Linked DNA regions of Homo sapiens: all the other regions are linked to region 1. Evidence: promoter capture Hi-C in 16 types of primary human blood cells and fetal thymus (Javierre and others, 2016). All regions are on one chromosome and are shown on one strand. Each heading gives the region's core, a stretch centred on a gene start or on the middle of the fragment in contact. The rest is flanking DNA. Distances are from core to core; before and after follow the strand shown. Region 1 holds the start of HUS1 (HUS1 checkpoint clamp component). Region 2 overlaps GRB10 (growth factor receptor bound protein 10). Region 3 overlaps DDC (dopa decarboxylase). Region 4 holds the start of FIGNL1 (fidgetin like 1). Region 5 overlaps IKZF1 (IKAROS family zinc finger 1). Region 6 has its middle 85 kb from the start of IKZF1. Region 7 has its middle 100 kb from the start of IKZF1.

The links. Contacts are between HindIII fragments. The CHiCAGO score rates a contact against its expected background, and 5 or more counts as called.
Region 2: a fragment that was not itself captured here is called in contact with the fragment with the promoter of HUS1 in region 1 in 1 of 17 cell types (total CD4 T cells); the score reaches 7.4 in total CD4 T cells.
Region 3: a fragment that was not itself captured here is called in contact with the fragment with the promoter of HUS1 in region 1 in 1 of 17 cell types (total CD8 T cells); the score reaches 6.7 in total CD8 T cells.
Region 4: a contact is called between the fragment with the promoter of FIGNL1 here and the fragment with the promoter of HUS1 in region 1, in 8 of 17 cell types (activated CD4 T cells, total B cells, total CD4 T cells and 5 more). The highest score is 18.2, in activated CD4 T cells.
Region 5: a fragment that was not itself captured here is called in contact with the fragment with the promoter of HUS1 in region 1 in 3 of 17 cell types (total CD8 T cells, total CD4 T cells and M2 macrophages); the score reaches 10.2 in total CD8 T cells.
Region 6: a contact is called between a fragment that was not itself captured here and the fragment with the promoter of HUS1 in region 1, in 1 of 17 cell types (monocytes). The highest score is 5.1, in monocytes.
Region 7: a fragment that was not itself captured here is called in contact with the fragment with the promoter of HUS1 in region 1 in 1 of 17 cell types (activated CD4 T cells); the score reaches 6.4 in activated CD4 T cells.

Annotation. Positions count from the first base shown.
Region 1 is chr7:47,977,272-47,981,229 of GRCh38, reverse strand. HUS1 (HUS1 checkpoint clamp component) reads left to right here and starts at 1,615. Exons shown (of 8, transcript NM_004507.4): 1 at 1,615-1,762; 2 at 2,414-2,541; 3 at 2,637-2,813. The coding sequence starts at 1,711. RefSeq lists an enhancer at 1,545-1,834 and silencers at 1,905-1,964, 2,045-2,094. The HindIII fragment of the contact is 1,329 bases long and covers 1,110-2,438 here.
Region 2 is chr7:50,627,625-50,631,582 of GRCh38, reverse strand. The region is part of intron 7 of GRB10 (growth factor receptor bound protein 10); the gene reads left to right. Among named protein-coding and RNA genes, the nearest start is that of DDC, 64 kb to the right of the region's middle. The HindIII fragment of the contact is 4,252 bases long and covers 1-3,958 here.
Region 3 is chr7:50,467,621-50,471,578 of GRCh38, reverse strand. It overlaps DDC (dopa decarboxylase), which reads left to right. Exons shown (of 15, transcript NM_001082971.2): 12 at 1,408-1,506. Among named protein-coding and RNA genes, the nearest start is that of FIGNL1, 19 kb to the right of the region's middle. The HindIII fragment of the contact is 2,131 bases long and covers 829-2,959 here.
Region 4 is chr7:50,448,511-50,452,468 of GRCh38, reverse strand. FIGNL1 (fidgetin like 1) reads left to right here and starts at 2,119. Exons shown (of 4, transcript NM_001287492.4): 1 at 2,119-2,168; 2 at 2,746-3,351. RefSeq lists silencers at 1,973-2,162, 2,304-2,598. The HindIII fragment of the contact is 8,767 bases long and covers 1-3,942 here.
Region 5 is chr7:50,322,868-50,326,825 of GRCh38, reverse strand. All of the region lies in intron 2 of IKZF1 (IKAROS family zinc finger 1), which reads right to left. Among named protein-coding and RNA genes, the nearest start is that of IKZF1, 20 kb to the right of the region's middle. The HindIII fragment of the contact is 3,707 bases long and covers 1-3,507 here.
Region 6 is chr7:50,217,380-50,221,337 of GRCh38, reverse strand. No RefSeq gene overlaps it. Among named protein-coding and RNA genes, the nearest start is that of IKZF1, 85 kb to the left of the region's middle. The HindIII fragment of the contact is 5,453 bases long and covers 1-3,958 here.
Region 7 is chr7:50,199,560-50,203,517 of GRCh38, reverse strand. No RefSeq gene overlaps it. Among named protein-coding and RNA genes, the nearest start is that of IKZF1, 100 kb to the left of the region's middle. The HindIII fragment of the contact is 272 bases long and covers 1,515-1,786 here.

The sequences.
Region 1 (3,958 bases), core at 366-2,865:
CTTAAAATAGGCAAAAACTGCAATTTTTGTATTTTGCACCTTTTTATTATTATTACACTTTAAGTTCTAGGGTACATGTGCACAACGTGCAGATTTGTTACATAGGTATGCATGTGCCATGTTGGTGTGCTGCACCCATCAACTCATCATTTACATTAGGTATTTCTCCTAACGCTATCCCTCCCCCAGGCCTCCACCCCCCAACAGGCCCCAGTGTGTGATATTCCCCTCCCTGTGTCCATGTGTTCTCATTGTTCAACTCCCACTTATGAGTGAGAACATGCGGTGTTTGGTTTTCTGTCCTTGTGATATTTTGCTGAGAATGATGGTTTCCAGCTTCATCCATGTCCCTGCAAAGGACATGAACTCATCCTTTTTTATGGCTGCATAGTATTCCATGGTGTATATGTGCCACATTTTCCTTATCCAGTCTATTATTGATGGACATTTGGGATGGTTCCAAGTCTTTGCTATTGTGAATAGTGCCACAATAAACATATGTGTGCATGTGTCTTTGAAAATTATCTGGGCCTGGCGCGGTGGCTCACGCCTATAATCCCAGCACTTTGGGAGGCCGAGGTGGGCAGATCACCTGAGGTCAGGAGTTCGAGACCAGCCTGGCCAACATGGCGAAACCCCGTCTCTACTAATAATACAAAAATTAGCCGGGCATGGTAGCTTGTGCCTGTAATCCCAACTACTTGGGAAGCTGAGGCAGGAGAATCCCTCGAACCCGGGAGGTGGAGGTTGCAGTGGGCCAAGATCACGCCATTGCACTCCAGCCAGGGCGACAGAGCCAGACTCCGTCTCAAAATCATCATCATCATCATCTGCATTATCATTATCTTGATTCTATGTGTCAAGTTAAAGACAAGGTTCTAGTCTATTTGCAAAGGACATTAAAAATAACAATTGTTAACACAGATAATCTTTAGTCTTTGAAAAACCAAATTAGATACAATTGTTGCTTCATTTCCCCCTTTAAAATTTTTCCTTTAAAAAAAATCCTAATGACATTATTTATGCTAATAAGAATTTTATCGGATGTAATAAAGTTCGTCTTGAGGCAAACTGCAGAATTATCACTTAACGTCAGTGTTCTTTAAGCTTCCCGACTTTACCAACTAGCCAGTAATATGTTCAATTTTTTTAGAAGTCATTTGAAACAATTTTCAGAACCTTAATCCACCAAGATGCTTCAATACCAAAGTACCAGTACCGTCATCTGAGGCTGGAGGGTTTAAAGCTGCTCTACCTTAGGTATATTTAAGATAATATTGTTTAACCTTTATAAACGATTAATTTTATTTGGATATTTTAAAATAACACTTGAAATAGGTGTCACAAAATTCTTTCAAAACGTGAATTCTCAGAACAACCTCCCCGAATCTGGGGCTTGAAGCCTCCGCCTCACTAAAAGTAGATCCCACCATTACCCGGCAGCGCGGAGGCATACCCGGAGACTGGGACCCCCACCTCCCCCGGGGCGTGACCTGTGATCCTTGACCCGTGACCCCACCTCCTCTAGGGCGTGACCCCCTAGCCCCACCTCCTCCGGGGCGTGGCCCGGAGATAACCCTGGTAAGAGTCGCGTAGCCCGAGCCGGGCGGAACCACTGTTCGCGCTGCCGTGTTTCCGGGCGGGGACACTCAGGGCGCGACGCTTTTCTGTTACCCACAGAGGCCCGCCGCGGCTGCGCCATCCGCGGCCATGAAGTTTCGGGCCAAGATCGTGGACGGGGCCTGTCTGAACCACTTCACACGTGAGCAGGGAGGCCGGAGAGGAGCGAGGGAGGAACGGAAGGAAGCAGTGAGCGCGCGGTGGGGACCGCGCAGGAGGATCAGAACGGGGATGGGCGCCGGAAGGGGCCGCGGGAGGATGGGGCCGGGATGGGGGTGCTGGTGTAGGCCGCGGGAGGGTGGGGCCGGGAGGGCGCGGGGCGGGTCGGAGGGCACTTGTGGGGATGAAGGCGGCTTTCAAGGGACGTTTCTGAAACTTGATTCCGATCACGTGGCTTTAAAAAAAAGCGGCCACTGCTCCCATAGACGGCTTTATCAGGCATTGACATACCTTCAAGGCCCCATTCGTCCCTCCACCCTGACAGTGCCTAACCTTGCATTTAACTGTGTATTGCAGTACCTAGTAGTCAATAAATCCATGTTGAATGAATGAATGACTGGTAGGTGCCTGTTTTCTTATTTGAACACTGATGATGTGTGCTGTACATCTCCCCTAGTTTGTTGGGAGAATTGCGTGACATCAGGGGTATTAAAGTACTTTCCAGTGTGATACCAACGTTAAGTGGTTATTTTTCCACCGAGAAGTTGATGAACAAGAAATTCTGCAAAATAAGTTGGTCTCTAGGATACATAATGTGCATTTTAGTAATTCCTTATTTTAACCCCTGCTTTAGGAATCAGTAACATGATAGCCAAGCTTGCCAAAACCTGCACCCTCCGCATCAGCCCTGATAAGCTTAACTTCATCCTTTGTGACAAGCTGGCTAATGGAGGAGTGAGCATGTGGTGTGAGCTGGAACAGGTGAGCAAAAGCTTCTGAGAGGCCTGCACACTCTGCAGATTGTCACTGGAAAGATCACATATACCCTCCCTCATCCCTCATTTTTTTTCCCTTAGGAGAACTTCTTCAACGAATTTCAAATGGAGGGTGTCTCTGCAGAAAACAATGAGATTTATTTAGAGCTAACATCGGAAAACTTATCTCGAGCCTTGAAGACTGCCCAGAATGCCAGGGCTTTGAAAATCAAACTGACTAATAAACACTTTCCCTGCCTCACGGTCTCCGTGGAGCTGGTGAGTAGGAGAGTCAGGGTTTCTAACACAGAAGTCTTGGCCTCGAAGGAATAGACATAGTTAGCCTAGCCTTTTTAACAATAAATACTGTTGAAAGCTGTTTGGTTTATTTAAATTTAAAGATCTGGTCCATAACTATATTTTGCATTAGAGTCAGTTCCTCCTCATTTTAAAATTGTGTTGTTATCATATGCATTCAGCTAGAATGCTGCTTTTTCCAAGCCGTGAAACTTCCAGCCTCTCTGTTTCTTGTAGTGGTATTGTCACCTTGTCTAGAAATCATGGTTTCTCTATCCATTTTCACCTTTGACATGTTTTCTCCCCACTCCCACCCTGCCTCATCTGCTATAATAACCTTTAAATGGCCCCTCGTTCTTCAGTACACGTATGTTTTATATGCTACTGCCAGATGAATTTAGTGCACAGCTGTCCTCCAAACACACAAATACACAAACTCATGCGCATACATACAATCCAGAGTTGCTCTTCCTACTCATAGAATGAGGTTCGTATTTCCTTTTTTTTGAGACGGAGTCTCTCTATCACCCAGGCTGGAGTGCAGTGGCGCGATCTCGGCTCACTGCAACCTCCATCTCCCGGGTTCAAGCGATTCTCATGCCTCAGCCTCCTGAGTAGCTGGAATTACAGGCACCCACCACCACACCCAGCTAATTTTTGTATTTTTTTAGTAGAGTCGGGGTATCACCATATTGGCCAGGCTGGTCTCGAACTCCTGACGTCAAGTGATCCACCTACCTCGGCCTCCCAAAGTGCTGCGATTGTAGGCATGAGCCACGGCGCCCAGCCCAGCTTTTCTTCATAACTCTCAACTCTTTGCAGTCAGGCAGTTCTCAGAGCTAATTAGGGCATTTCATGTCACAGTATAAGTTTGGTATGTTTTTTCTATTGCTTAAGGAAAAGCAAGATAGTAACGTATAATACTTTTTGTCCAAAAGTGCAAGATATTTTGGTCTGTGAGTCTCATAGGAGCCCCTAGAAATAAATATAGTTTGCCTTTTAACTGTTAGAAACTGCAGCACTCTGAGTGTCCTATGCCCAAAGAATGGCCTTCTCTTGGTTGCGTCAACATAGCAGGCTTGCTTCTTTCTGCCTCACGGCTTTACATGTGCTGTTTCCCCAGCCTG
Region 2 (3,958 bases), core at 608-3,107, 2.7 Mb before region 1:
TCTCCAAAACATTTACCACGAGTATTTACCAGAGTTACTAAAAACTCCATTTTACATTACATCCTAAAAGAGCTTTTGAACTAAAAAGTATGCTAGATCATAATTAAGCACTGGGATGAAACTGGTCGCAAGAGCTGCTGGCCCAGAAGCCCTCAGATGTCTCGGTTTCTGTGTGAAGGTCTCAGGGTAGGTGTGGATCTCGGGTACTGTGGGTCAGTGTGTGCACCCTGGAGGCTGGGCCGTCTGTCCAGGGACATCTTATGCTGCAGAGGGCTCGAAGAGGACAAAGAGAGTGCCCCATTTGCTATTTTTACAAGGCGATTACTGCTGAGCCTTGAGCAAAGACTCACAGCCAGTCAGGAGGTCTTTTGGATGCAGTCATGAGATTCCCTGAGCCTGTAAGTTATCCAAGAGCAAGGTCTAAGACTGTGGCAGGAAGCAAGAGTGAGGGTCTGTGCTAAGATTGACAGCAAGGAGGGGCCTGAATGACTCCCACACACACAACAACCCCGTGGGGGCCACTGAGACAAAAAACCAGGTGCCCCAGAGTGGAGTTTGGGGCCGTGGAGATATAATGATCTACCTTCAACTCCAATTGTTCTTAAACTTCTTCCTTTAAGTTTGCAAAAAAAATTAAGCTCTTGCTTTTTTGTCTATGCAGTGAATATGTAAAAAGTGACAACAGAAAGTCTGGGAACAGTGGAACCTTCTATTAGCACTTCAGGGCTTTTATAACGGGATTCAGTGCCAAGCCAGCCAGAGGCCTGGGTAGCTTTGCAAACCATTCCTCCCCCAACTAACTCTAAAAAGACAGAGTTTCATGCTGTTGACATAATTATGCCCTCTTTAATATTGCCGTTTTATTTTTAAAAACAATTTGCTATTTAGGGGCTTTTTTGCAGTAGAGAGAAAGAAATTGAGGATTTGAGGGGTGGCTTTTCTGACTGAATTGTTCCTGCTGCATCTTAACTGGTCATGAGGTTTGCTTTCTCAGAACTGAAATCCTGAGTTGGAAGCAGCTTTCAGGGTCCTGCCCCTGCACCCTTCGGTGGTTGTCCACAGGCCTTCAGCTGGAGCCTGCCTTGTTCCCAGATCCACGGTGGATCCAAGCACGTCCCAGGGAGGGCACGTGTCAGGGGCCAGGATCTTTTCAAGAGGGTATCTCATTAATCCATGTCATAGCAACACTATGAGGCTGGTGCTGCTTACAGATTTCCATTTTACAGATGAGGAAACTGAGGCACAGAGAGGCTGGATAGCTCAGCCATGTTCCCACAGCTAGTTACTGATGAAGCATGGTTATGGCCAAGTCTGTTTCTAAGTTCCTCTTTGGAACCACCACCCCAGGCCAAGATAGGTCATAACTAATGTAGAACTTCCATACATTGATTAAGCAGTGTTTTGCTTACATTACTGATTCTCAGAGCAGTTCCCCACAGCTTGGATGAGGAAAGCAAGTCTTAGATTGCTAATTACCTATCCGAGGTCACAAAGCCAGTAGGAGGCTAAGCCGGGATAGAACTCAGATAGAACTTGTGGGTCTCAGCTTCTCACCTTTCCTGGTGTTACCAGATTCTTATATTCCCTAAACAAGTCATACCTTGGAAATTAACTGCCTGTGGTAACAATCTCCGCTCTGAACTGTGAGTTGCTGCGGGACAAGGGCCTTGACCTGCTCGAGAGAACCTTCTAGGCCCACCTCGTGTGAGATGCTTGAACACTGGATGGGCCAGGGAAACCCAGGCCTGCTCCGCAGGAGACCTGAGCCCCCAGCAGTGCTCAGGTGGTTACTAAAGGGGCAGTTGGTGCTGTACAGAATGCTCCTCCTAGAACTGCCAGCTCTAAAAGACTCCGTGGTCAGTGGCTGGCAGTACCCTGTAATAGGAGCCCTCGTACCTCTTGTGTTCCTTACAAACATTCTCATCAGTAGCTCTACGCGTTGACTGGGTGGTTTGAGATGGCTGGTATACACAGGGCTTTCTTGGTGTTCTGTCTCTGGGTCTTAGCTTTGTGTGTGGTTGGAGGGCCCTGGTGAGATTGGAAGTACCAGAGAGTGCTGTGTCAGGGGCAGAGGGGCCTGTCGCTGGAGCTGGAAGGTGCCTGCCTTTGTGTCTGACTCAGTCTCCTGTCTGCCTTGCCCCCTCAGGGTCTCGCCAGCCCAGCCTCTGTGGGAATCTAAAAGGAGTGGATGTGGACGTGTGACCAAGCACATCTCAGCTTTTAATACCCGGGCTATTTATAGACCTTTGGGGGGATGGCTGTGGAACAACAGGGGTTGGGGAGAGAGTTTAAAGAAAAATGCAGCAGGGCTGAAAAAAAAAATGAGAAAACCATTGGCATGGCTGATTTGAACAAGAAAAGTGGCAAAGAGACTTGGAGAGAGATGAGACACACACTTCAACATAATTTCACTTTCCTAGAGAAGATCATGTATCCTCAGTGCAGATAAGCTCATTGAGAGACTCAGGGAAGAAGAGCATTAGGAACCCTGATTTGGGTAGCAGAAGGCATGCACTGGTCCTGAAGACATTCCCTATGATGGTTAGCATATTTATAAAGCATTGTTGGAGCTCAGTTATATTTTCCAAATTCCTGTTTTTCTTTTATGTTAATGCATTTTAATAACATTCCTACCTAGGACCCAGAGACATGTTTTCTTCACTTAAATTGTATTTCTGTAGACTTATTCAGCCATGTCAGCTGTATTTGAATATTTTGCTTGTTAGGGGGAAGTATACTTTCATTGAGTGACACATAAATTCTGGAAAAGAGATGGTGGATTTCTTGAAAAATAAATAAGAGTTGAAAACAAGTCTCTGGGTCCTGATCCAGCCCCAGCCCTGGGATTTCTTTGAGTTGGAGAAGTGGCCCGTAGGTGGCAGGCAGGGGGCAGTGACCCTACCTGAGAGTGCAGGCTCCCCTGGCTGGTCCCCCGTCTGCTGGGAGGCTAACCTGCCCTCACAGAGAAGGGCTCTTCCGCTCTCGCTGAGCCCCGCCTCTACCACCCCCACCACCCCCACCTGGGCACTCAGGCTTGAGTGACATTGACTCCTTCCTGCCCACCGGGTGACAGCTGAGGGTAGCTAGCTGTAGGAGGGTCAAGAGGGTCCCTGTAGAATGGTGTGGTCCCAGTTCCTGATTAAGGTGGGGGCCTCCCAGCCCTTCCCTCTGCTGTCAGACTCCACGCCGGCCACAGAAATCAAAGTTCAGAGCAAGTAAGCACCCCCTTCCAAACACAAGAAAAGGGGCCAGAGAGAGCGGGGAGCCTCGGAGGGAGTTTGTCAGGACAAACTAACATTCTCACCCACCCTGCAGATCCAGCTCCAAAGCTGCCACTGACACATCAGTTGCGGGACAAAGATTATTTGGAGGTTGGCAGATGGGTCTGGATTCAGAGAACGCACGTGTTTCAGCCTCTCAGCTGCCTGTGTGTGATTTCACTGCCATGGGAAAGCATTGAGCGGGGGTTTTTCTGACCAGTTGGTGTGAGAGTTGTGTTGTTGCGGTTGTTGTGGTTGGCGTCCTCACCCCCAAGTCCGGGTCTTGTCGTATGGGAGTGGGAGAGCAAGTCCGTGGGGTGATTGCATCACTGTGGCTGGATTCACTCCCTAAGGGAGCCGGTGCAAGGCAGCCTGGGAGCCCAGCGGGTGGGTGGGTGGCCTCCCTGCTGCCCGGAGACAGCCTGCCCCCCAGGGCACACGCAGGCTCCACACAGCCAGCCTGGGACAGTGGGGAGAGACGGAAACACGCTCCCTTGCAAGAGGCAGTCGCAATTTAAAATGCCATCTTGCTCCTCTGACTGCTTTTTCCGGGCTGTCGAGGTAAGGATTTGTTAAACACACCTCGTGTTCTGGGAAGGGTGCATTGCTGCAGGGTCTTGCCTGGAAGGGATAGACTCCCGTCCTCTGGACTCTACTTCTCCATCCCTTGGCCTGGAGCTGCTCGGTGTTCATGGATT
Region 3 (3,958 bases), core at 645-3,144, 2.5 Mb before region 1:
CACCGGGCAGGGCCTGGTGTGCAACTGGGGGGAACCACACTGAATGCCTGAGTCAGAGGTTGGGTCCCTGTTTCCCTTTTGACTTGAGAAGCTCCTGCAGAACCATGGCTCTGGGCCCTTGAGCTACTTCTCTTGTGTTCAGAAGCAGTTGCCACCTGTTCATTCCACCCACACTTTATTTTATTTATTTATTTATTTTGAGATGGAGTCTTACTCTATTGCCCAGGCTTGAGTGCAATAGCGCCATCTTGGCTCACTGCAACCTCCGCCTCCTGGGTCCTGCCTCAGCTTCCCAAGTAGATGGGATTACAGGCATGTGCCACCATACCAGGCTAATTTTTGTATTTTTAGTAGAGAGAGGGTTTCATCATGTTGGTCAGGCTGGTCTCAAACTCCCGACCTCAGGTGATCCACCTGCCTTGGCCTCCCAAAGTGCTGGGGTTACAGGCGTGAGCCACCGCATCCGGCCTTCACCCACACTTTAAAAAACACCTGCAAGCCCTCCTACTGGGGAGCAGTGCGGGACTCAGGACTCCGGCTAAGCAGTCCCACCCGGCAGATGGCCCAGCTGCGCTAGAGTGTCGCGCCTGGCTGCACTGTGTCACCCAGGCCCAGTAGGGAGCTGGCTCAGCTCTCCTCAGTGTCTCCTTTATAGCTGAAATAGAATATGACTGTTAAGATGACCACACAGTGCTGCTATGCTCACTTCCCAGCAGTCTCCTCGTCCCAGTCCTTCCTTACTCACTTCACCACATCTCCATCCCTCAGTGTGTGGGGGCCGGTCAACTGACTGGGTCTGGGAAAACCAGAGGAAGGACAGGGAAAGCTTCTGGAGCACCAGCATGGAGACACACATTGTGTCTTCTGATGAGGGGTCTTGGGGTCACTCCATGGTGATCAGTAGGACCAAGAGGGAACCAGTATTGCTCTAGAAAACAGTGCCAGAACATCTGGGGCAGAAGTGGCAGACAAGAGCAGGTTCTGGCTCCCTCCTTCCTCGTAGGCAAGGACATCAATGAAAATTACCCCCTTATCCCCACTGGATGGTGAGCTCACTGGGGGCAGGGCCGTGTCTTCCCTGTTTGCTCACCACGGAACCCTAGGGGACAGCCCAAGGTCTGGCCCTGCTGTGCATGCCGCAAACACCTGTTGAGTGAAAACAATGAACATCACTGGCTCCCAGGTCAACAGTCCCCATCTGTGTTCCTTTCTCTTGGAGATTTGCAAAGAAAGCCTCTGCCCACATCACCGAGGGCCCTGCCATCCAAGACAGGCCATGGCAATGGGAGCAGGTTGGCCACCAGGGAATCGGCTGCCTCCAAGAGAAATAGGCGAGCCGGTGAGCCGAAAAGGAAGCCAGCTTTTAATATCTTCCTCACTGATGGTCTGTTTCATGTTTCATTTCAGCATTGGCAGATACCACTGGGCAGAAGATTTCGCTCTTTGAAAATGTGGTTTGTATTTAGGATGTATGGAGTCAAAGGACTGCAGGCTTATATCCGCAAGGTGACTTTGTTTTTATTATTTATCACGGTAAAATTGCGGAGGTCTTTCGGGACTTTAGAAATAAATTCAAATTTTTTTTCTTTTTTTTTTTTTGAGACAGAGTTTCACTCTTGTCCCCCAGGCTGGAGTGCAATGGCACAATCTCAGCTCACTGCAACCTCTGCCTCCTGGGTTCAAGCGAATCTCCTGCCTTAGCCTCCTGAGTAGCTAGGATTACAGGCATGCGCCATCATGCCCAGCTAATTTTTGTATTTTAAGTAGAGATTGGGTTTCACCATGTTGGTCAGGCTGATCTTGAACTCCTGGCTTCAGGTGATCCACCCACCTCAGCCTCTCAAAGTGCTGGGATTACAGGTGTGAGCCACTGCACCTGGCCTTCAAATGTCTTAATAAGCAAATACATGGCAAGAGAACCAGACTGTAGTTTGGGTTGTTGAGATGAGGTTATTTATAAGATCTGTTAAGTCACTTTCGTTAAGATTGCAGGTTATCAGGTCCAGGAAGATGGTCACAGTAGAAACATCACATAGGTTGTGCTTTAGCCACATCTAGCCAAGAATGAAGTTCATTGAGCAATGGCAATTATGAGAACATAAGGACTGTGTTTTTCTCCCCCAAAATTGCCAGAATAAGATAGATATTCCCTAGTCCAGTGGTTCTCAGACATGCTTCCAGACCAGCAGTGCCGGCCTGCAGTGGGGCCCAGCAACCTCTGTTTTAACAAGCAAACCAGACACCTTCTCTATGCACTAAAATTTGAGAACCACTTATCAGCTCCAAGCCCCACTCCCCTGCTTTTTTTTTTTTTTTTTTTTTTAAAATAACAATTGGCTGGGTGTGGTGGCTCACGCATGTAATCCCGGCACTTTGGGAGGCCGAGGTGGGCAGATCATGAAGTCAGGAGTTCTAGACCAGCCTGGCCAACATAGTGAAACCTTGTCTCTACTAAAAAAAAAATACAAAAAATTAGCCAGGCATGGTGGCAGGCACCTGTAATCCCAGCTACTCGGGAGGCTGAGGCAGAAGAATCACTTGAACCTGGGAGGCAGAGGTTGCAATGAGCAGAGATTGTGCCACTGCACTAAAGCCTGAGTGACAAAGCAAGACTCCGTCTCACCAAAAAAAAAAAAAAAAAAAAAAATGAGGAAACTGAGTCCTGAATATGAGCCTGGATCTGCCTAGAGCCACCCGTTTAGCCAGCTGCAGAAGGCCTGCTGCTGTTCTGCTGGCTCTCTCTGATCCTGGTGTCCTTCCTAAGCTGTGGCCTCATCTTGATGGACAGAGGTCCCCAGGCTTCATGGGAACAAGCACACTTATGATATTCAGCCTTAGTGATGGTAACAGCCCTCCATTTTAAGTCCTGTTGCCACTTCACAACCAGGTGTGCAGGGGCAGGTGTCCCCAGCCACCTCCTCTGTGGCACAGCATATATAAACACATCCATCTGCAAGCTTCATAGAATGCCTAGGATGTGCCATGAACTGCCTACTCCCAAAGCTTCGGTGAGGACAGTTCCAGGAGCTGCCGAGCACTATGAGGACCTGTTTGGGGGCGAGAACTGGGAAAGGAGTATGTATATGAATTCCTGGGTAGGAAATCCCCCTCTACCCATTTGAGACGAATTCAGCTTTTTTGGGGAAAGAAAGCCAAAAAATAAGGGATTTATCTCCCCACAATGATGACGTCTTTAAGCTCAAGGACAACTAGTTATGATCATGCTGGCTCCTGTTTAAAACACACTCCACTTCTTTCTTAAAGGGGACCCAATCCTGCCTTAGGAGCAGAGTCCAGCGATGCTCAAAGCCTGTCTCCTTGGGCGGGAACCGGCTTTCGGGATCGCCCATGAGGCCGAGGTCTTTGGCGCTCTCTGGTGGCATGACGAGGAACCACTCGTATGACACGTGTTTTTGTCCCAGCCACCCCCTGCCCGCGAGGCGCCGCGTTTCCGCAGGTCCTCCCCAGCACCTGCAACATGGGGGCCCTGCTGTATCCGCGGGCTTAGAATGAGCAAGGCACGGGCCTACGCCACGGAGGGCTCCTTCTCCTAGGATCACATGCTGTCTGAATAGCTTCTGAGTTCTATAACTATTTGGAAGTGAAATAAGGTCAGTGTGATATTCAATGAGAGGAAGGCCGTTTCTGAATGTGACAGAGCGGACAGGATGCCCAGCTCTAGGTGGCAAACGCGGAGGAGGAGCAACAGCTGTGGCAGCCACAGAGCTGCAGCTCCATCAGGCTGCCTTAGAATCCTAGCTCAGCCAAGGCCTCCGGGTGCACCTTGGGCATGTCGCTCACCCTCTCCCAGCCTGTTTTCTTATCTCCAAAATGGGGATAATCATGATATCTTCTGTGTTGTGGGCTGTCCTGAGGATGCCGCAGTGGTGAGCGCTGGCACCTCAAGCACAGAGGAGCAACTCGATGGGCATTAGCCATTGTCTCTTCCAGAATGATC
Region 4 (3,958 bases), core at 870-3,369, 2.5 Mb before region 1:
CACTGCAACCTCCACCTCCTGGGTTCAAGCAATTCTCAGGCCTCAGCCTCCTAAGTAGCTGGGATTACAGGTGCCCACCACAACACCTGGCTAATTTTTGTATTTTTAGTAGAGACAGGGTTTTGCCATGTTGGCCAGGCTGGTCTCGAACTCCTGACCCCAGGCGATCCACCTGCCTCGGCCTCCCAAAGTGCTGGGATTACAGGCATGAGACACTGCACCCAGCCTCTGGAGTCTCTTTTATAAGGATACTTACTATTCTCATCCATGAAGTCTCCACTCTCATGACCTAATCACCTCACAAAGGCCCCGCCCCTTAAAACCATCACATTGGGCTTAGGATTTCAACATACAAATTTTGGGGGGACATAAACTTTCCATCCCTAACATTACCCAAATAGTATCTATATAGTCATTTCTAAATATACACGTATTTAGAAATTTCTAAATAGCCAGTAAACATACAACTGACTTGGCCTTGATATAACTGTTTTCATTTTCTTTTATTTTCATTCTACATGACATATTTTGGGTAATTATAAAATAATTAAAATTAGTTGATAAAGTATGGAATTAGAATAAAATAATTTTCTATTACTATCTAAGCCATGAAATGAATTAGGAGATGCTGTTTTCAGTGAAACGTCTTCTAGTTTTTAAAGTGCATTGTCCAATTCCTTTTTATTTTGTGAAGATTTTAAAAACTTAAAAAAAGTCTTCAAATTGTTTGTGCCTTGCATTTCTTTAAATCTTATGTTTAAACATCATGTGCTGCTAGTTGCTAGTCATTTTCTCTATCCCCTGCCCCAGACCCTCTCTTTCTCAGGAAAGGATATCCAGGGATCCGGGTCCCAGTTAGTCAAGGAGATATAAGAGGAAGGCTATGAGGCTTTCTGGGAAACATTTTCTTTTTCCAAGAGAGAAGTGTTCAGAGGGAAAAGGTCCTTTCTCAGTTTGGCTCCCTCTTTGTGTTTTAGATCTGGTCATGTGAGGCTGCCTGGCTTGGATTGTGAGGGCATCTCTCGACAATGAAGTGACAAGCCTGGGGAGGAAAATCCACAGGCGAGAAGGTGGCAGAATGGAGAGATGGTCCTTCATGACTTCTTTGAGTCACCAGGTCCAGATTTCCCGCCAACCTCCAGTCTTCTTGTTATGTGATCTGATATCATTATTTACTGCAGAGGCCACTGAGTGGATGCTCTTACTTGTGTCTGAAAATCCAATTCACTAAATTAATCAAAATACGGCACTCTTCTTTTGAAACCTTGCTCCAGAACAAAGTGGAAGGTAATGATGGGGTGCTTTTCAAAGTTCCAGGGAGGTGTCCCTACACAGCAGACAGCTGTCCAAAGGAATGTAGATGTTGGCTGCGGGGAGATCTGAGTTGCCAGACTCAGTCAGAACAGGTGTCCTCTCCCTTATTTTATCTTAAACATGCATGTCATTTTTGCATGCTACTCTATGCGGTTCTTTCAGCCAGGGAACATTGCTGAGCACCCGCTCACGTGCTGTATGGAGCGCAGACTGCAGGGTGCGAGGGGCGGAGGTGATGTGCTAGGCCTGAATTCAAGAGGGGGCGCAGCCACAGGCCCCGCGATGCCGGGGTGGCCTCTTGTAACGACGTTTTAACCGCTGACCTAAGTGGATCCGCTCCTCTCCCGCCGCCCGCTCCCTGCCTGCAGCACAGGATGGCGGCTGGCTTTCCCGAGTGGGCGCAGGTGAGCCACGCTTGCTCTCCCGGGTGGGCGCAGGTGAGCCATTGTTTGCTCTCCCGGGTGGGCGCAGGAGAGCCACGCTTTGCTCTCCCAGGTGAGCCGCCGCTCGCTGTCCCGGTGAGGGGAAGTGAGCCACGCTCTATGGGAATCCTTCGAATCTTCATTCAATTTCCATCGCCTCCTTGTATTTATTTGGGAGTACTTTTAAAAATGAAGCCTATGCACAATGATGTAATAAGCGTTTATAGAACACCACTGGTCGGAGCTAGGGCCTAGGTGGCGGTGCCCGGGCCCAGGTGCCGCGCCCACGCCCCGCGCGCCGAACGCACGCACGCACGCACTCACGCACTCACGCACGCACGTACGGCGCGAGTCCGAGGGCGACAGCAGCGCGCAGGCGCACGTCAGTCCCCGCGCTTTTCGGAGGCTGCCAGCGTCCCACACCAGCCGCAGGTAGGATGCGGTGACGGGAGGCGGGGCAGGGGCGCTGCTGACCCCTGTGGAGCATCAGGGTTGGGGCGTAGGGGAGAGGCGGGCGTGTGCCTCTGGAATGCTGGGGGTCGCGGGGCGGTGACTTCGCGGGAGGCCGTGGGAGGCGGGAGCCAGGCAGTGGCTGTGCCCTTTTGCTTCTGTCTTAGCGGGAGGGTGGCTGACCCGCTAGCCCAGAACCAGACTCATCCAGGATTAGGAAGCTGGGGCCCGGCGTGGACGGCAGGCTCGGGGCCAGGTCTGCGGGCGGCTTCCTTTGGCAGAGCCTGTCCGGGGGCGGGGCCGCTTACCGCAGGCATTTACTGGGCCCAGCGGGGCTCTGGGCGCCCACAGCGGGGGTCAGTCAGTTCCCCTGTGACCCAGGCAAGCTCTTAATCTCTGTGATGAGAAAGAAGGGCTCATACCTTTCAGGGGTCATCGTGAGGAATCAGAAGAAGCAGTATTTTATAGAGTATTTTCTAAGTGCTGAGTCCTCTGTCTAGTGCTTTGCAGAATTAAAATACCTTGTCAGCTCAGTGATGTTGCTGCGCTTCTTTTATAGGTGAAAACCGGCAGAAAGACATTAAGAGATTTTCCTGCAGTCACTGCTGGCAGATGATAGAGCCAGGATTTGAAAGCAGGCAGCCTGGCTCCAGACCCTGTGCTCTTAACTCCCGTTTTGCATCAAGAACAGAATCCTATGAAAGGCTTGCACAGTGCTTGGTACTGAGTAGGCACTCCGTCAGTATTTTAGTAGCTATTATTCCAAAGGACACTGTATTCTAGGTACTAAGACAATGTGAATGGAATGGAAAACAATTCCTCCCTGCAGAAGCCAACTGTCTAGGAAGACAGATAATGACATTATTAAAATAATCAGAACATTGGCAAAATAAAGAAGATTGAAATGCAGTTCATATGACAGTGCTAATTAATCATACTTTTTAGATCTAGGAAAGGCCATAAAGGTTAAATTGACTTGGAAATGGTAAACAAGACAATGGTTGTGTCACTGATCGGTGATGGCCAGTTTTTGGTTATCCTTATTTGCCATTTAAATGATTGAATTGAAAGGAAGAAGTAAGACTTGGAAGATGAATATTGAAGGAAAGGTGAAGATGGAAAAGAGAAGGGGGTTTATTCTGAGAACAGTGACTAGAACTCTGAGGTATGGTAGAAATTTCAGGATAACAGATGATAAAGGGGAATGAAGCCATGGAGAGGAAGAGAATGATAATATTAATTGTGAAAGTTTGTGTCAAGTGTTTTCTGAGTCACCTTTCTTTCAGTTTCTCATTTCTAGTATTGTATAAATGAGTTTAACATCAAAATGGTATAGTGAAAAAAAGGATGAACTGCTTGACAGAAGAGGTCAGATCTAGTTTTGACTCTAGCTTATTTAGCTTTACAGCTTTAAATAAATTACAGTGTCTTTAAAGCTCTGGATCTTAAGTTTTCTAATTGTTTTTTAAACAAAGATTTGTGAACACCTACTTACAATGTGACAAATGTCTTTGTAAGGCATTATGGGAGATAAAAGCTGCATTAAACCTGGCTGTTGTACTTACAAGTAATTTGGAAGGCAAAATTTCAAATACTTGAACCTAAAGTAGGGTTTCTTGGTTTTCATTTAATTGAAATACTGTTAGGAAACAAAAATTTTTCATAAATTTTTCTTGTGGATATGTAAGTAAATTCTATATATCTAGCAATATGATACATCTATAGTTCTGTTTAAAGGTAACAATGTGAGGAAGCTTATGCGAATAACTTGA
Region 5 (3,958 bases), core at 405-2,904, 2.3 Mb before region 1:
AAGGGAACCCCATGCCTACTGGGAAAATGATCCCCTCTCCGCATGCAAAGGGAGTCTGCTAATACAAATTCTTCTCTTTGAAATAGGAAAATAAAATATAATCCACACAAATACAAAAATTGCTTATACTATACAAAGTAGGATTTACAAAATGAAATCGGGTTTTACAGAATACCTGTATTTATTTTGACTGGATTAGAATTATATTTGACCAAAGGTTCTAGCATTGGGGAATCACTCCTACTCTGAGGAATCTAACCTTCCTTGGGAAGCCATAACTAGTAGGAAATGCTCTTTTCTCCACTGAAGCTGCAACTCCTATAGTTTCCGCCCTTCCAAATCTAACTTAAACTTGAGTTGAGACACAACCCACATGCAAGAAACAGATGATGTGAACTTATGCAGTATAGCTACGTGTGGAAGACCATTTTAGATGAAGGTCCTGAAGAAGTCTAACAAAACAGCAACAGCCTGGGAGAGTGTGCCTGCTGACTGAGCTGGCAACAGGCAAAATGATATGAACACATAGACAAACCTAGATTTTTGAGAGTGTGTGCAAATGATGAACCAAACATTAAAATGTCTGAAAAACATGACTAGGTATTGTGTGAAATGTCCTTGTTTGTTTGAATAAACCTTCCACAAGAGTAATACCAGCATTTCAGACGACTGGCAAGACCAGTAAAATCATCCTCAGTATATAAAACAACCCTTCCTGGAATATTTAAAATAGAACCTGCACAGGCACCAAGCCTATGCTCTGGGGAATACTACTTCATTCTCTGGAAAACAGACATCACAATTTAATATTCCAGCTTAGCTGTAATTACCACAATTGGCATATTTTCAGAAAGAGCATTATTGGGTATATTTGGATAGCCAATACAAAATGAATAGTTAAAGACGGAGCAGGATTATAAGAATTTCCCAAGGAAAAACAAAAGGCCAGAGAGACATTGAGTGAAAGTGTTCATGTTATGCTAAAGCCTTGGCAATGTGCATTAAGTCACTACTATTTTCACTGCTGTAAATAGAATTTTTTTTTTTTTTCGAGACAGAGTCTTGCTCTGTCACCCAGGCTGGAGTGCAGTGGCGCGATCTTGGCTCACTGCAAGCTCGGCCTCCCAGGTTCAAGCCATTCTCCTGTCTCAGCCTCCCGAGTAGCTGGGACCACAGGTATCCCCCACCATGCCCAACTAAATTTTTGTATTTTTTTAGTAGAGACAGGGTTTCACCGTGTTAGCCAAGATGGTCTCGATCTCCTGACCTCGTGATCTGCCTGCCTTGGCCTCCCAAGCGCTGGGATTACAGGCATGAGCCACTGCGCCCGGCCTATAAATAGAAAATGTTTAAAGTAATAATTGCTAAATATCTTAGCGTTTTCACCTCTTTCATAAATGGGGAAAAACTCCAAATAGGAGAACGCAGGAGGTATATGAACCACCTCACAACTCTTATTTTTGTATAAGATGACTTCCTAGAGCAATGGTGTTCAAACTCCCAGGACTTTATGAAGGTTGTCAGAGGAATTTTTTTTTTTTTTTTTTGGTGGCAGCGGGGGGTTGGGGGGTGGGTGTGGGGGTAAGAATAACAAAATAATCTTACACAGAACTGTAATATACACATAGGTCTCCTACATAAAGCAGGGAGCTTGCAATTTGGGGAGGCAGGGACCCAGGCCACTTGCCTTCTTGAAGACCTGCTAAAGTACCTTCATAGAAATGACCATGGAGCCTTCTGGCCTGACATGCTATCCCAATGAGTAAACATGTACAGGGCGTGTGGGGTGTGCACGCGTCTCATGATTAACCAGCTGTCATTATTATGGGGTGGAGGTGGGAGGTTGAGAAACTAAACTTTATTGACTCTTTTCCTCCTATAGCTTTTCCCTGCGATCATGCTGGAGCACTGCAGGATGCTCTGAGACACCCTTAGATGCATGGGGCCCTGGAACCAAGTGAGGATCATAAAGAATCAGGACTTACCCAATGAAGAAATGTCGTACTTTCCGCTCAGTGCATGCTAAAATACATCCAAATAACTCTTAGTTACTTTTATTAAAAAATTTAACTGCTGTATCTATGAGAAAACAAGATCCACTACAATTTGTTGAGGATGGTTCATAATAACAGGTACGCTTCTTAAGAATTACATCTGCCTTCAGTTCCTGCACTGAACTAAATGTCAGTGCTCCAGTGTCCCTGATCTTGCATCTCAGGACATTTATTTTTTTCAACATGGGGGAGAAAAAGGAATAATGAAACAGTAGGGATCGCAATTCTAAAATACCATGGGTCAGACTGATCAATAGGAACTCTCTATGCAGAAGAAACCACATGGGGAGAAGGGAGAATAAAAAATCAGTCTTGGTATGTACAGGGGCATCTAGTAAAGAGTCAGAACTGGATGGTAGTGAAGTGAGATATATTCACATGCCCACCAAGGGCCCTGTGTTAATTCAAGCTCGCCTTGCCTGAACTCAGTGATAGTTCTTAAGAGGTTGTCTGATTTGCCTAAAAGCCCCAAAGTGTAAGTCCGGGCTGCTGAGACTTTCATCCCTCACGTGAGCCTCTGTACCCAGGGCCCCTCATCTTCTGTGACAGCTGAGGATCTCCATGATGAAAAGTTATCACTTCATGAAACCCATCATGATAGGCACAGTATTTTTATGCACTGATTTTAAACCAATTTGCCTGGTTAACCATTTAAAATGTAAAAGTATGCAAGGATTATAAAACACTAAAAAATAAATGACTAAATCAAGCCAACAGGCATCTCAAATACTAACACACAGTGACTAGGAGTTAGTGACCCAGGACATAGTTCTGGCTTTCTGGCTTGACCAATTAGTTGTAAGACGAATGGGAACATGAGACTGGTCCCTTTTTTAAGACTCCTTTCCTCAAGTGGAAAAAGGAGGCTGAAAAGCATGATTTTGGTCTATCCCACAGGGTTGCGGTGAAGATAAAATAAAAATAATGTGCATGGATTCTAATATGCTAAGTAAACTTATGGTATTATTTGGTAAACTATATGCACATAGAAACATAAGGTATATATTGCGTCAAGCTCCCACACTTTTCCTAAGAACATGTACAATGACATGCAAACACACAGAGACGGAGACAGCAAGACATCAAGTGTTTAAATAGAATAATTTAGAAGATGCAATACAATTTCACTTATTTAGAAAAATGAAATAAACTTCTGGTTAAATTATAAAAATACACATTTACACTTAACTTACCTATGGCCTATGTTTCAAATAAAGCATTACCTATGAGAAGTGTTCTGGGAAAACTGGATGAGATATGGTATAATTAGCTTATAAAATGTAAGCAAATAATTTCTCAAGTAGATTATAATTCACTCAACAAAGTTCTGTCATCCCGCCTCTCCTAAATGCATGAGGTTTTATTATACACAATTGCCCAAGAGGATATAATTCTCTGGGTAAATACAAGCTCAAAATATAGAATCTCAACTCTATAAAGTAGTGGAGAAGCTTCCACTCTAGGGTCCAAGTGGGGATCACACCCCAGAGCAATCTCTGACTCCCTGTTGGACTTCCGGTCAGTTGCTTAAATTCTCTGTGTCTCAGCTCCCTGCAGGTTGGAAATGATAACTGTATTTTCTTCTGTGGGTCCTTGTGAGGTTGAAAGGAGAAAACACTTTGGGTAATGTTTGGTAAATACAAAGCATTTAATCAATGTGATTTACTATGCTTAACTTGATAAAATATTCCCATTGACACTGCAATATATACAAACCTTCTTTACGTAAGCAGATTATATATATCTAAAGGTTTCCATATCCTTTAGATATATACAGTTTATGTTTATGTTTATGGAAACAAACTTCTGGTTTCCATATCCCCAAAAAAACACACTACAAATAGCATTAAACCAATATCCAATATCTATTTAGGGTCACAGGTGCCAGAGGAACCTTAGAGATC
Region 6 (3,958 bases), core at 837-3,336, 2.2 Mb before region 1:
CAGAGCAGAACTGGAGGAAAGGTGCTTCCACTGCTTCTTCCCAGAGAGGGAGGGGCTGGGAGCTCCTTGCCACAGGCTGACCTCTGTCCCCTCCCTTGTTGAGCTGGTGGTTGCCCAGTCCCTGCAAGTGTTACCTCATTTCCTCTATTTGGAGGTCCTCCTCTACCTCTTCCCTAATTCATCTCCATGACGTGTCTCAAACTTTTTTGCATGAAGTTGTCACTAATTCACTTCACTCACTCGGATCACTCCTTTGGGCTCCTCTATCTTGAGATAGGTCAGATGCCATTTACAGAAGAAACTCCATCTCCAGCCACGTAATGAAGTAAAGAGATAGTCATAGGTGGTGCTTAGTCTCCCCACTGGGGTAAGAAAATGGAGGCTGGAGGAACCCACAGGGCAAGGATGCTGTCAGGGCAGGGGAGGCTGGGCACAAGTGTCCAAGAGCACAACAATCTCAATCTTGTTCAGGGAAAGTTGTCAGCTGTGGGAGTGGAAGTGGGGTAGGCAGGTGGTGATGGGATCCCAGTGGTAGATGGAGTGTAGACCCTGAGCATATTGGCTAAATGATGCCAAGCAGTATGGAACCACTTAAAAAAATGGTTCTTGGAGCCTTGCCACCTGGTAGGGTGTTCAGAAGCTGGACTTCAATATTGAAAGCAAGGCATTTGGAGGACTAAATGGAGACAGAAAAGGGCACTTAAAGTCCTTTCCATAGACTAGGGCATGCACAGGACAGGGAGAGTTGGTAATTGAGGCACAGAACAGGAGCTCCCTGGTTAGCCACGTAATAAGAGTGATGATATTAGGTTCTGCCTGTTGAATAGAGAGAAGGGGATGGTTGCAAAAGTTTAAGTAATTGCAACCTCAGTCAAAACAGATTCAGGAACTAACTGTGGGAGAGGCAGTGAGCATGTGGGTATGGGTGATCCCTTAACTGAATTGTAAGAAAGTAGTGGGAGAGATCCAGGGTGAGGAGGTTACAGTGCCATGCCAGGAAAGGAGACCTGCTGATTGGGCCACTCGGTAGTTAGGTGAGTAAGCCAGGTCAAGGGCTTACAATTTTTCAGAATAGAGAGGATCAATTTTGTAAGGGCATCTTGAAGTGATCACATTCTCAGAAACAAGCCCATGGTAGTCAAACTCACATGATGCCAAATTATAATCCAAAAATAATCCTTTTGTGAATTTACCATAAGAATCATTTCTTTCTATTGATATTGACATATGTGACCCAGGGTACCACTTCCAAATCAGTAACTATTAGGATATGATTGGAGCACAGGATGGTGAAAACTCCCAGAACACTTCTAGGTACTATTCAGGTCTCTTTAATGCCAGTGTGGGCCCAGTCCCAAATTTGACAAGCATCACTCATGGCTTTCTTCTCCTCCCTTTTCTAATTCAGATTCTTTCTACCACCACCCTCTCCTCAGGTCTGTCTCTATCATTGATGGCACTACTCTTTCTTCATTTGATTTATGTGTGGTCTTATTCTCTCTTGCTTTGATTTAGGAGATACTGCTTTTCTAAAGACCACCACAGAATGCCACTTTCTGCATTGCTTGAAAATTCTGGTAACTGAACTTAGAAGCTCATCTTAGGTGTAAGAACAAACTCTTTTAACTTCTCTCTGTGGGCCAAACAGGCAAAATGAGACAGCCTGTGTCCTTCCAACATTTTAGATCCTTAGTCATTCTGATGAATGAGTGGATGGAGAGATGGACGAAGAGCTCACAAACTCAGAAACAACCAGAGGTGTAACATCTACTAGTCTTTTTGTCTTTCATGAAATCTCACCTTCTCATTATTTTCCTTATCTGTTTGATTATCACAATTGAGCACTTATTCCTAAGCACTATTGCTTATTATGCCTCTTAGGGTTTCTACTCCAGAGACACACAGCCTCTTCCTGACCTGGGAATGTACCACCACTTGGTGCTGAATTGTGACCCCAAAGTGCTCAAGGACCCTCCCCAGGAAGGCAGAACACATGCTTAAACCTGGGACTCTTGAGAAAATGCACATTCTGATTCTGTACATCTGAAGTGGGGCACGAGGATCTGATTTCTACCAAGTTTCCAGGTGGCACAGGTGCCACTTGTTCCTGGACCTTGAGTAACAAGGCCCAAGTGGTAAAATCAAGGGCTTGGAGCTTAACTCTCCTGAGTTGGAATCCCATTTTCCTCCATTATCAGCTTCATGACCTTAGACAAATTCTTCAACTTCTCTGAGCCTCAGTTTTGTTTCTGAGCATGGGGTTGCCACTTGGTTGCCAGGTTCTTGTGAGGATGGAGGTCACGTATGTTCAGTGCCTCTGCCAGTGTGTGCCACCTACAGCCCTCACAAGGCCCTTCCCTTCAAGCCCCATCTGAGTCCCTCCTCCACCCAACGTCTGGCTTCTCTATCTGGAGGATCCTGGAAGGACAAGATACAGCTGTTCCCAGGGCCTTTTCTAAGGCATGCAGTCTGCTCTGGGGCCAAGTAGCCCTGTGGTGTGGTTGCAGCCCCTGTTTCCACCAGGAGTCACCCTTCCTCTGGACTGCAGCTCCCAACCCCTGGGATCTTCCTGAGCTTTGGAGTTATGGGCATATCTGGCTTAGACTCTCATCTTCTACTGGCACTGTGGAAAGGTGCTCATTTTTTTTTTTTTTGAGACGAAGTTTCGCTCTTGTTGCCCAGGCTGGAGTGCAATGGCACGATCTCAGCTCACCTCAACCTCTACCTCCTGGGTTCAAGCGATTATCCTGTCTCAACCTCCTGAATAGCTGGAATTACAGGCATGCACCACCACGCCCTGCTAATTTGGTATTTTTAGTAGAGATGGGGTTTCTCCATGTTGGTCAGGCTGCTCTCGAACTCCTGACCTCAGGTGATCCACCTGCCTCGGCCTCTCAAAGTGCTGGGATTACAGGCGCTAGCCACTGCACCTGGCAGGTGCTCACCTTTATGTCATCAGCCAGGGAGAGCAGGTAAGTCAGTACCTTTCCCCCACCTCAGCACGGCTGCTAGCTGGAGAGGATGAAGAAGCCTTACTTCTAAATAAAATGAGGTTTATATTTGTTTGGGGAGCACGTTTCTCTCTTGTGGTGATCTGTCCCTCAGAAATTGGTTACTGGCCTGCATTTTCCCAAAGGCCTGGTAGCCTGATTTCAACCTGAGAAGTGGTTCCTCTTTGGCATTTAAAGACCACTTCAGTTTCCGTTGCCATGTGAGATGTGCAATCCCAGATTGCTGAGCAGGGCTTTGGCCACAGGCTTCCTGCCTGCAAAGGAGAGCCTGGCTTTTTACTTGAAAGACAGCAGGAGGCTCTTGTGTAGAGAGCAAGGGGAAATCATTAAGTTGTCCATGATTACCAAAGGATATGTAAGAAATATGTTCTCTAAAGTGGAAATTGCTACCCTTGGGTAACAGGAAAAGGCTGACCATTACATTATAAGTAGGAAATGGGAGATAATGAAATCGATGCCAAGCACACAGTGCAACCTCGATAAGGGAGTTTGCATCACAGCCCTCCCAATTCATTTTCACAGATGGTTCTTCTCTCGGGCATTTAAACTTTGTCTCTAATATTAATCAGTGAAATGAAAAAAGAGATTTGCCCAGTTGTGGTTATTGTTATTGGAGACTAATACCAATAAACTGGTAGTAAAATATCCCCACAATATCCTCTAACATTGGAAACAACCTCAAGGGATGAAAGCTGACTTGTGAATTCCCCCGCCCTCTGAAATGCTGCTGGTTCTAAGGTCTTGTGGAAATCAGAGAGAAGTCATTTCATTTAAGTCTTAATGGACTTGAGCTTTAAACAGTCGGTGTACACAGCCTCAGCATGTCAGGAGAGGCCATAGGTAAAGTCTGTAAAAGAGATTTGGCACACCGAATGATTCACCCAGTATATTAGGTAGACAGTTGTAATGCAGGCTCCTTCCATATATGACTCTATTCACAGAAGGTC
Region 7 (3,958 bases), core at 401-2,900, 2.2 Mb before region 1:
CCTTGGGAGGTGACTTCTAGCAGGGGGAAGCTCCTACCTCCCTTAGTTTTTCTTCCCCTCATTATCCTCAAGGAAGAGGAGTGCTTTTGTATTGGTCTAGTCCAGGGATATTGATTGGGCCATGTAGTTCTGGTGAGCATTAGACAGAGAGATACAAAATAAACAGGCATTAGGGTGAACACTGTTCTGTGCTTTTGCTCTGGTTCCTGTGTTTTGTATTTGCTTCTCCTTGCTGAACATTTTTCCTGCTACCATCAAAGGAGTAAGGATAATAACAGGGCTAGGCTGAGGAAAACAAAGAAGTAAAGTAGTTTTACTCCTGCTCCCTTCAGTTCAGGCAAGTGGTGTCACTGAAGTGATTCTACGTGGCTTTGAGGCCAACAGTGACACCCAGGGATTTTCTCTTGAGGCTTAGCTTCCCATGGGAAGCTTGCAGGGGTAGGTTGCTGACCCAGGGTCAGATTCAAAATTTAGGAATGCTAAGTGTCAGTCAGTAATCTCTATCTCTTCTATTTTTACTCTTGAAGATGGTGTATGACAGTAGATAGTGTCAGAGGTGAGCATACAAGAGCAGAAGAATGCAATGTGGCTTTGGGGCTCTCCCATCAAGAAGTGGGGTCCATTTCCTGATCCCTGGAGTCTGGACTCAGGAGCAGCCTGTGACTTGCACTGACATCAATGGATAATGAAATGGATGGAGACAGAGTTGTGCAAATTCCAGAAGCTACGCCTTGAGGGCTCTTGCAGATTTTGCTTTTGACCTCTTGAAACTGCCCTGAGACCACTAGGAAGGAATACCTATCTGGTTTTCTGGAGGAAGAGAGTCACATGGAGAAGAACTGAGGCAGCCACCAACTGCCAGACATGTGACCACCAGCTCTGCTGACCCCACAGCTCAAAGAAGCTGCACAGATGAGCTGAGGCCACACTCTTCAGGGAACAATCCGCACAGTCCTGAGAGACAGCAACTCCTTGCTCTTCTGAGCCACTAGGCTTTGGAACAGTTCATTGCCTCTTTTACATGACATACTCTAATTGCATCATCTTGTTCAATGCTCACAACAACCCTGCAAGGTTCTTATTAATTTTCCATTTTACAGATAAGAAAACTGAGCCTCACAGAGTAGATGCAAAACCGTTAAGTGGCAGGACTGGAATTTGCACTCACATCTATGTGGCCCTAAAGGCCACCCTCTCCCCATTTCACTGGCCCATCAAAAACCACAGAGACCAGATAACAAGAGCTTGTCATAGTGCTGACAGCAGAGCTGAGGTCCCAAACTGCAGCATGCTCTGCATTCTTCTGGTCACAGGGCAAAGGCCATCAAAAGGGATCAAGAGAAGACACAGGAGCTTCCAGGATGTCAGAGAAAAAGGATGGGCTTGAACTTCTATTGACTTCATTGAGTCAACACAGGAGTCAAAAACTGTTGTGACTGGGGACTCACACCCTGTCTATTCTTGTTGATCTTTGGACAAACCATTGCAGCAGACAGAAACATTCAAATAAAGCTTAGAAAAGTGAAAAAAGAAAGGGGGGAAGAATACCATAGTAAAAGAAAATAGAAGAGGGAAATGGTGAGGCAAACTTATCACTGGCATCATGATCTATCAGATTATGTGCTCAAAATAAGGTTATGGATTTATTCTTAGTGGAGGGACTGGGGCTCATGGCCTGAGTATCATTCACAAAGAAGCCAGAAAACTCCATGTGTCCACGTGTCCAGGGGCAGGAATGCCCACGCAGGCACTGTATCGCTGCAGCTGAATACCTGCCAGAGAAGCTTTGCTACCCTAAAGCCAAGGCCAGGCCTTCTAAGAATGCGCCACACCAATGAGGTGACATGTCCTGTGATGGCCTAGTATGGTTATGTGCTTTGCCTAGAATCCACGATTGCATTATGATGGAATTTCTGGTATAGAAAAATTGTAATGTTCCAACACTGTTTTTGAAAATAAAGTGCTTCTTCATTAAAAAAAGTTTAATTGTAGTAAACTACACATAGCATAAAACGTACCATTTCAGACAATTTTTAAGCATATAGTTCTGTGGCATTGAGTACATTGACACTGTCATGCAACCATCACCACCAGCCATTTCCAGAACATTTTTATCTTCCTAAATGGAAACTCTGTATTTATTAAACATTTAATCCTCATTCCCACCTCCCGCTATCTCCCGGTAACCACCATTCTACTTTCTCTATGATTTCCAGAACTTTTTCATCTTCCTAAACAGAAACTTTGAATTCATTAAACATTTAGTCCTCATTTCCATCTCCCCCTATCTCCTGGTAACCACCATTCTACTTTCTCTATAAATTAGACTACTCTAGAGACCTTATATAAGAGCAATCAAACAGCACTTATTCATTAATGACTGGCTTATTTCAGTTGGTATAATGTCCTTAGGGTACATTCATGTCATAGCATGTGTCAGAAATTCCTTCTTGTTTAAGGTTGAGTAATATTCCGTATTGTGCATTTACCACAGTTTGTTTATCCATTCATTTATAGATGGAAACATCCACCTTTTGGTGGATGTTATTGTGAATAATGCTGCTATAAACATGGACATACAAATATCTCTTTCAGATCCATTCTTCTGGGCAGATACCGAGAAGCAGACTTGCTGGGTCATATGGTAATTCTATGTTTAATTTTTTTGAGGAACAGCTATACAGTTTTCCATAGCAGCTGTACAATTTTATATTCCCAACCAGGATGATGATTTCTCCACATCCTTGCCAATGCTTTTTTTTTGTGTGTTTTTTCTTTTAACTTTTTTGAATGAGTAGCCATCCTAATGGGTATGGAGCTTCTTCATTTTATAGAATAGGAAACCAAGACATAGCAAATGTTAAAAGTTTCCCCACGGTCACACAGCTAATAAATGGCAGAGCTGAGAATTGTACCAAGGTGATCTAAATCCAAGGAGCAGAATTTTAAAGTTTTTATTTCCAGGTTAATGGTGGACAACCTCAAGCTAAGGGATTTCTGCTAATTGTATGGAATTGCTCATCACTGGGAGGCTTGTTCAGCATACACTGGGGTGAGGAGGAAGACATAAAATACCTCCATCAGTGAGAAGCATTTGGTTCACTCAAAAACAAGTTGAAGACCTGGAACAGATAAAATCAGAATAACTCCTGACCTTTGGTACAAATGCCAAGGGACTCAAATGTGGATAATTTTGGAAGCCAACTGAAGAGTTGAATTATTACTTGTCTCAATGCTTCCTGCTTTCGGTTGGTTCTGGAAATGGAAGTGCCAAGCCCTGCCAGGAAGTCTTCTCTCGTGGTTTTACTGGTCAGGGCTAATTTAGGAAGTGCTGGAAATCTCGTAGAAACCCCTTGGGAAATTTTTACCTTGTTTTCCTACATAAAAAGTTCCACTCAGTTATAAAATCTCAGAGATGACATCTGGCCTCCCCACTGGCTTATCTGAGCTAAACCATGTGTCTTTTCCCAGTGCAATTCAGTATCGGGCAACATAACCTGGGCCACTTGGGCCATTCCAGGAGAGGGGAGACGTTTTGCTAGGCATTCTGTGGGTTCATGCAGGTGCCTTCTTCTCAGTCCACTCACACATTGCCCTATGACATGGTTGGTAAGATTCTCGTCTCACTGTGCAAGACCTTAAGGCTCAGAGAAAATGGGCTAATTTATCCAACACTACCCAGCTAATAAACAGGAAAGTCAGCACACAAATCCAAACACATGTCATTCCCTAAATTACGCTTTTCTCTTTACCCCTCTCTGTTCAGAAGTATCAGAATAATTCCTTTATTTAAGGAGATTTGAGTTCTTACTGTAACATGTTCAATATTAAATTTCTCCATTAAACAGAAAGCATACATGTGTCATGAAGTCCACACTCAGGCCCCCATCCATGCCCAGTGGCTTCTGAGAGTCCCTCCTTTCCTTACTCAATGCCATCTGCAGCCCACCTGCTCCTT